Linked DNA regions of Homo sapiens: region 2 is linked to region 1. The links are contacts of gene promoters, found by promoter capture Hi-C in blood cells and fetal thymus (Javierre and others, 2016). All regions are on one chromosome and are shown on one strand. Each heading gives the region's core, a stretch centred on a gene start or on the middle of the fragment in contact. The rest is flanking DNA. Distances are from core to core; before and after follow the strand shown.

What was found. The method cuts DNA at HindIII sites, captures the fragments that hold promoters and counts their contacts. A CHiCAGO score of 5 or more calls a contact.
Region 2: a contact is called between a fragment that was not itself captured here and the fragment with the promoter of KRT75 in region 1, in 7 of 17 cell types (M1 macrophages, M2 macrophages, M0 macrophages and 4 more). The highest score is 10.1, in M1 macrophages.

What each region holds. Positions count from the first base shown.
Region 1 is chr12:52,432,422-52,436,076 of GRCh38, reverse strand. KRT75 (keratin 75) reads left to right here and starts at 1,706. Exons shown (of 9, transcript NM_004693.3): 1 at 1,706-2,270; 2 at 2,825-3,039. The coding sequence starts at 1,773. The HindIII fragment of the contact is 2,406 bases long and covers 1,166-3,571 here.
Region 2 is chr12:52,967,239-52,970,635 of GRCh38, reverse strand. No RefSeq gene overlaps it. Among named protein-coding and RNA genes, the nearest start is that of KRT18, 20 kb to the right of the region's middle. The HindIII fragment of the contact is 7,174 bases long and covers 1-3,397 here.

The DNA of each region.
Region 1 (3,655 bases), core at 457-2,956:
GCTGATTAATTCCTCTCTTACTCTCCCAGGCTTCAAAACCACAGCAAGAAGAAAGCAGGCAGCAAGATAAAAGAAGATTCAGGCCAGGCGCGGTGGCTTAAGCCCGTAATCTCAGTACTTTGGGAGGCCAAAGAGGATGGATGACTTGAGCTCAAGAGTTCAAGACTAGCCTGAGCAAAATGTCGACACCCAGTTTTTACAAAATAGTAAAAAAATTAGAGAGGCATGGTGGAGCATGCCTGTAGTCCCAGCTACTCAGGAAGCTGAGGTGGGATGATCACCTGAGCCCAGGAGGTGGCGGTTGCAGTGAGCCGAGATTGAGCTGCTGCACTCCAGCCTGGGTGACAGAGTGAGACCCTGTCTCAAGGCAGAAAAAAAAAGAAGATTCAGCAATGTTTTGGTTTGACTCTTCCCATGGTAGAGATGGGGCAATGAGTTGCAGAACAGAGAGATGAGGTGCCTTGAAGTCTTCTTTGCGGTTTGTAGACTAATATAGAATGTAGGGCACAGTCTACAAGGTTAACAGGAGAAACAGGGAAGGAACGAATCCTCTGCTAGGTGCAGCTGTTGGAGCTCTTTTGATGAAGGACTGGAGAGCTAGGAATTCTTGGTCCTCAGGAGGAGGAGGAAACTGCCTGGGAGACTTCTGGGATAGGCAGCCTCAAATGCAGCTTGGAGGTGATGATTCATGGTACACCATCTTGTACAGTTTTATCTTCCCAACAGGACCATGAGCTTGTTGAAGATAAATAATGTGCATTGTGTTTCTTTTGAATTCCCACAGGACTAGTCACAGGATGGACATGGTTGGCACTTCCTTAATATTACTTGATTGTATCAGAAAGAGGGGAGCCTCAATAGACATTTACTCAGCACTTACATATACCGGGCATTGCGAAAGTTTTCACATGTGAATATTCATTACAAACCCCATTTTACAGACATGAAAGTTGAGGCACAGAAAAGTTTCATGGCTTGCTCAAGGTCCCACAACTATGAGCAGGTCTGAGATTCAAACCCGAGTCTTTCTCCTCTCACAACCTCTCTTCCCAGGAGACAGAGCACTGGCTGGCCTTGAGAGTCACATTATATTGCAGTGGGCAGGGCACAGGCACACATACACTCCAGAAAACCATGTGTGACCTACACAATAGACACGGAAGCTTAAGAGCAGAATAAAGGGGCAATCAAAATGGGGTGGATTCCTAAGGAAGATGATTACAGAGCGCGACCTTCAAGGTTTGGAAAGACAGCTTGATGGGGCTTGGGGAACCAGGCAGTAGGTGCTGAGAAAATGCTTAGGGAATAGGAAGCACCCCAAGGAAACAGTGAAGTGTAGTGGCTTGTATTAACACAAGATGTTTGGACAGGACGGAGTTGGTCCCAGGCCTAAGAAAGCGGTTTAGAAATGAGGCAGTGTTTGCTGAGTCCTTTACAAGATGCATCATTAGCACATGACGGAAAGCAATTAACTTGCTTCTTACTCATATGCTGATCAAGTTGCAACTGGAAAGGAGTTTGCACGTTGTGGGGAGGGGGTGCCAGGGAACCAGCCAGTGGCCCTTACACCATTTCCCGAGGGATGCCGAGTGTGAGCTCAGGGTTGGCGGATGCCCAGGGAATGCCATCAGAAGGCCCTCTCCACTAGCAGTGCCCCGCCCCCACAGGATGCTCATAAAAGCCACGAGACCAGGGCTCTCCAGCCACCTGTCTTCTCCACTGCCTGTACCAGCCCACCTCAGGTGCCTTCTCGCCGGCCTTCCTCACCCACCATGTCTCGGCAGTCCTCCATCACCTTCCAGTCTGGCAGCCGCAGGGGCTTCAGCACCACCTCGGCCATCACCCCGGCAGCTGGCCGCTCCCGCTTCAGCTCTGTCTCTGTGGCCCGCTCTGCAGCAGGGAGTGGGGGCCTGGGAAGGATCAGCAGTGCTGGGGCCAGCTTTGGAAGCCGCAGCCTCTACAACCTGGGGGGTGCCAAGCGGGTCTCCATCAATGGGTGTGGCAGCAGCTGCCGAAGTGGCTTTGGTGGCAGGGCCAGCAACAGGTTTGGAGTCAACAGTGGATTTGGCTATGGGGGTGGAGTTGGAGGAGGCTTCAGTGGCCCCAGCTTCCCCGTGTGTCCCCCTGGAGGCATCCAAGAGGTCACTGTCAACCAGAGTCTCCTGACTCCTCTTCACCTGCAAATCGACCCCACCATCCAGCGGGTGCGGGCCGAGGAGCGCGAGCAGATCAAGACCCTCAACAATAAGTTCGCCTCCTTCATCGACAAGGTAAGCAGGGGCTTCATCCACCCCCTTGGGTTTGGGATCAAATAAACTCTTGGAAGGGCCATCCCATGGGGGGAGAGCAATAATGCAATGACCCCACTGTGGGAATGAGCACTGTTCAGCACGGGCTCCCAGGGGCTGAGACCCTTCCAAGTCAGGCCAGCTTGCCCCACAGGACCTGGTAGAAATTTCCTCTCTTTCGGAGCCACATGGGCTGGTTCAGTCAACACCAAGGGAAGAGTTTTGTTGATTCTCTACAGGAGAGTTGCTGCTCAGCAAACTACCCTAACCCAGAGTAGGTGGTGTTGAGAAACTTAACCCAAGAGCAGCTCCCCAACAGAAGCCTCTAGGCCCCACCACCCGAATCCTATGCAAGCCCTAGGGAACTTTGCGGTAGCTCCATGGACTGCCTCCTTTTGGGTTGGAGTTGTCAGTTACATTATTGTCAATGGGTGCCAAGTGAAAAAAATATCTTTTTCTTCTCTCCCTTATTAATAGGAGTGTCTAACTCTGCCTCTCCAACTTCTCAAGGTTTCATTCTCTCTTCTTCCCTCCAGGTGAGGTTCTTGGAGCAGCAGAACAAGGTCCTGGAGACCAAGTGGGCCCTCCTGCAGGAGCAGGGCTCCAGGACTGTGAGGCAGAACCTAGAGCCCCTCTTTGATTCCTATACCAGTGAGCTCCGACGGCAGCTGGAAAGCATCACCACCGAGAGGGGCAGGCTTGAAGCTGAACTGAGGAACATGCAGGATGTTGTGGAAGATTTCAAAGTCAGGTAAGTGGGAGACTGGCTTCTGGCCACACACAGCCATCTGAAGGCTCCTTTGTGTGAGGACCAGAGAGGTGCAAAGGAGCAAATGCCGATATCAGCCGGGAGCTTTGGAACTGCAGCCTTTATCCTGCAAGGTGGAGACAGCACTGTGTGGGGTAGCACAAGGACCTTCATCTTGTGTATTGCTATGAAGATCCTATTCCTATTTGTTCACATGACTGCAAAGGGATATCAACATCATCCGACAAAATATTGCTACTCACTCTAGAAATCATAATGTAATTTCACAGTCAGCATATTGTTTAATTCCATTGGACATGGGCTCAATTATTGAGATGGTTTGCATTTCCAGGATGGCATTCACTGTAGAGTGAAGAGAGGTAACAAGGAAGAGTTTAAAGGAGGGCAATCTGACTTTTCTTGTGGGGGGAAACTTTTGACTGCACATCATCCAGGCTGCAGTAGGTGAGGTATCCAGTGGAAAGGGATTTGGTCCAGACTAACCCATTAGCCAGCTTGCCCTTATTTCTAAGCTTGAGCTACCCCTAGTTACAAAAAGCATATTTCTCAGGGGCCACCCTGAGGTTCAGTGAAAATATATCAAAATCTACCCGAAACA
Region 2 (3,397 bases), core at 825-3,324, 530 kb before region 1:
ACAGAGCCACACTCTTCAGGCAGGATGCTGTCTCCTTATCTAGGCTTGGGGTCTTGGGGCAGCCGGAGGGTTGGCATCCTTGATTATAGCCACAGGGATGAGACCTTTTTGTTTTGTGCTTTGGCTCAGCTCAGCCCCACTGCATGCCTGGCTGCTCCCACCAGCTCAAGATTATCTCTCTGGTGACGTGCTGCCTGGGGCTTGGCATGTACCCACCCCTGCGATCTTGCCCCTGCTGCAGCCAAGAGCAAAGTTTCAGTCTCTGGGACCCCAGCCAGACAACTCAAGGAGAGCCAATGAACTTGTATTTATGCAGTACCTACTAGCTGCCAGGCATGCAGCCAAGCCTTGGGGACTTTGTTCTCATTATTTTCTCACCTTTCCCACTGCACAAGTCTTAGCATCTCTCAGGTTTCACTTCTGCCACAAATCATGGCCATCATCCTCCCCGTGAACACCTGCAGCATTTACTGCCATGACATTCCTTGGCTTTGAATTAACCTCGTGACCTTTCTTGTATCTTTATGTTCTTAGGGCCGAACCTGAGGGTGGGGACCTGGGTCTAAGCTGTCCCACTGGTGGGCACCTTCCCTTCCTTTCCTGAACATTTTTGGAATGTAGGAGTGACCCCAGAGGAGGATTACAAAGCCCTTCTTCAAAGGAGAGGTTGAAAGTGGTGCCCGGGTTCTATAAACATTTGCACTGAGCATTCCTAAATGACAGGGAGATTTATAGTTTGAGTGCCTTCCCATTACGAAGACTGTTTAAGTGACTTGGGAAAGTTTCTTTAAAAAGAAAAAAAAATGGAGCAGATTAAGATGAGATTTTATTTTTCTTTTTTTCCTTAAAAAGAAAAAAAGGCTAGGCGAGGTGGCTCATGTCTGTAATCCAAAGGCTAGGTGAGGTGGCTCATGTCTGTAATCCCAGAACTTTGGGAGGCCGAGGTAGGTGGATCATTTGAGGTCAGGCGTTTGAGACCAGCTTGGCCAACGTGGTGAAATCCTTGTCTCTACTAAAAATACGAAAATTAGCTGGGCGTGGTGGTGCACACCTGTAATCCCAGCTACTGGAGAGGCTGAGGCGGGAGAATCGCTTGAATCTGGGAGGTGGAGGTTGCAGTGAGCTGAGAAGCCGAGACCACGCCACTACACTCCAGCCTGGGTGACAGAGTAAGACTCCGTCTCAAAAAAAAAAAAAAAAACAAATTCTTCCTGGGCTTTCTTAAAGCTGGGGTGTGTGTGAAGCGAAGCTGAGGAAGTTCAATTGTTCTCCCACTAAGTTCTCTTTCCTGGAACAAAGAGGACCTGCAAAGAGAGTGAGAGGACTGCTGGCATCTTGAAATATTCTTCTACTCTCCTTTGTCCTCTTTTCCTTGGGTGAGGCATGCAGAGACTCCTCTTGGTTTGTTATTTGCTCATTTATTTGTTCATTCATTTGCTTATTCATTCAAAAGCTAGTAAGAGAAGATTGTTAAATTTGAAAATTTTGCTTCCCAGAATTAAACCATTTTAAATCAACCATGACAGCAGTATTTATACCTTGGATATTGGCAAATGCTATAGGTTATTAAATAAAATAAAATAACATTTTATTTACAATTTAATAAAAATTACAATTTCAAATTTTTGTCTTTAAAAAAGAAAATAACAACCTGCTGTTTATGTGTTGGAATTGTGTTATGTATCAGGGCATAAGAGTGAACAAGATAGTCCAGTCTCTGCTCAAAGGGAGCTTACAGTCTGGTGCTGCACTGTCCTGTCCAATCTGGTAGCCATTAGCTACTAGCTACTGCTGTGGTTATTAATTTATTTTTTAAAGTTTTTAATTTTGGCTGAGTCTGGTGGCTCATGCCTGTAATCCCAGCGCTTTGGGAGGCCGAGGCAGGTGGATCACCTGAGGTTAGGAGTTCGAGACCAGTCTGGCCAACATGGCGAAACCCCGTCTCTACTCCAAATCCAAAAAAAAAAAAAAAAAAAAAAAATTAGCCAGGTGTGGTGGTGGGCGCCTGTAATCCCAACTACTCGGAAGACTGAGGCAGGAGAATCACTTGAACCTGGGAGGCGGAGGTTGCAGTGAGCCGAGATTGAGCCAGTGCACTCCAGCCTGGGCAACAAGAGTGAAACTCTGTCTCAAAAAAAAAAAAGTTTTTAATTTTTGTGGGTACCCAGTATGTGTATCTATTTTAGGGTACACGAGATATTTTGATACAGGCATACAATGCATAATAATCTCATCAGGGCATCCATCACTTCAAGCATTTATCCTTTATGTTACAAACAATCCAATTATACTCTTTTAGTTATTTTTAAATGTACAATAATTTATTTTTTTTGAGACGGAGTCTTGCTCCATTGCCCAGGCTGGAGTGCAATGGCATGATCTTGGCTCACTGCAACCTCTGCCTCTCGGGTTCAAGCAATTCCCCTGCCTCAGCCTCCCGAGTAGCTGGGATTACAGGCATGCACCACCATGCCTGGCTAATTTTTGTATTTTTAGTAGAGACGGGGTTTTACCATGTTGGTCAGGCACGTCTTGAACTCCTGTCCTTGTGATCTGCCCGCCTCAGCCTTCCAAAGTGCTGGGATTACAGGCATGAGCCACTGCACCCAGCCTTAGGCTGGTGCTTTTTAAACTTTTTTTGCTTCTGGGGAGTGGGTGATAGGGAAAGTTCTGCCAGCCTGGGAGGGGCCCACTAGAGCCTGCTGCTCCAGTGTGGATTGTGGGGAGAGGAAAAGGAACTGTGTGCTTTGGGCCCAGATCACTGGAGTGCCCTGAGTCTCTGAGAAGTTTACCCTACATCCCTCCTGTGGCAGCACCATCCACTTCACCAGGATCTGACCAGGGCCTTCAGGGGGACACAGCCTCCCCGGATCTGAGCATCACTATCATTCTAATTCCTTGGGCTGTTTCTGTGTAGATAATTATTTTCCAGCTCATTCAGGCAGGTGAGGTTGAGGCCAGCAGTGCAGCTAAATCCTTACACCGTGACTGGGGCTGCTTTTATACAGGTTAGGGGAAGAATAATCACTTATGGCTGAAATCTAATGGAAGAGGGAGTTCTGTGTAACTCTAGTGGGCAGAGCTGAGTTTAGAAGGTTAGTAGGAGGCAGATTTCAGCCCAGTAGAAGGAACAATAATGTTCCAGTAATTATACAATTATTATCCAACAGGGGCTATACTGTCATAAATTCTTCAAACGGAGGCCAGATGTTAGGAAGGCCACAAAGAGGATTCCTACTGGGAGAGGCCAAACTTGAACCATCTGTTTATTTATTTTATTTTATTTATTTATTTTTTTGAGAATGGAGTTTCACTCTTGTCACCCAGGCTGGAGTGCAATGGCACAAACTTGGCTCACTGCAACCTCCGCCTCCCGGGTTCAGGTGATTCTTTTGCC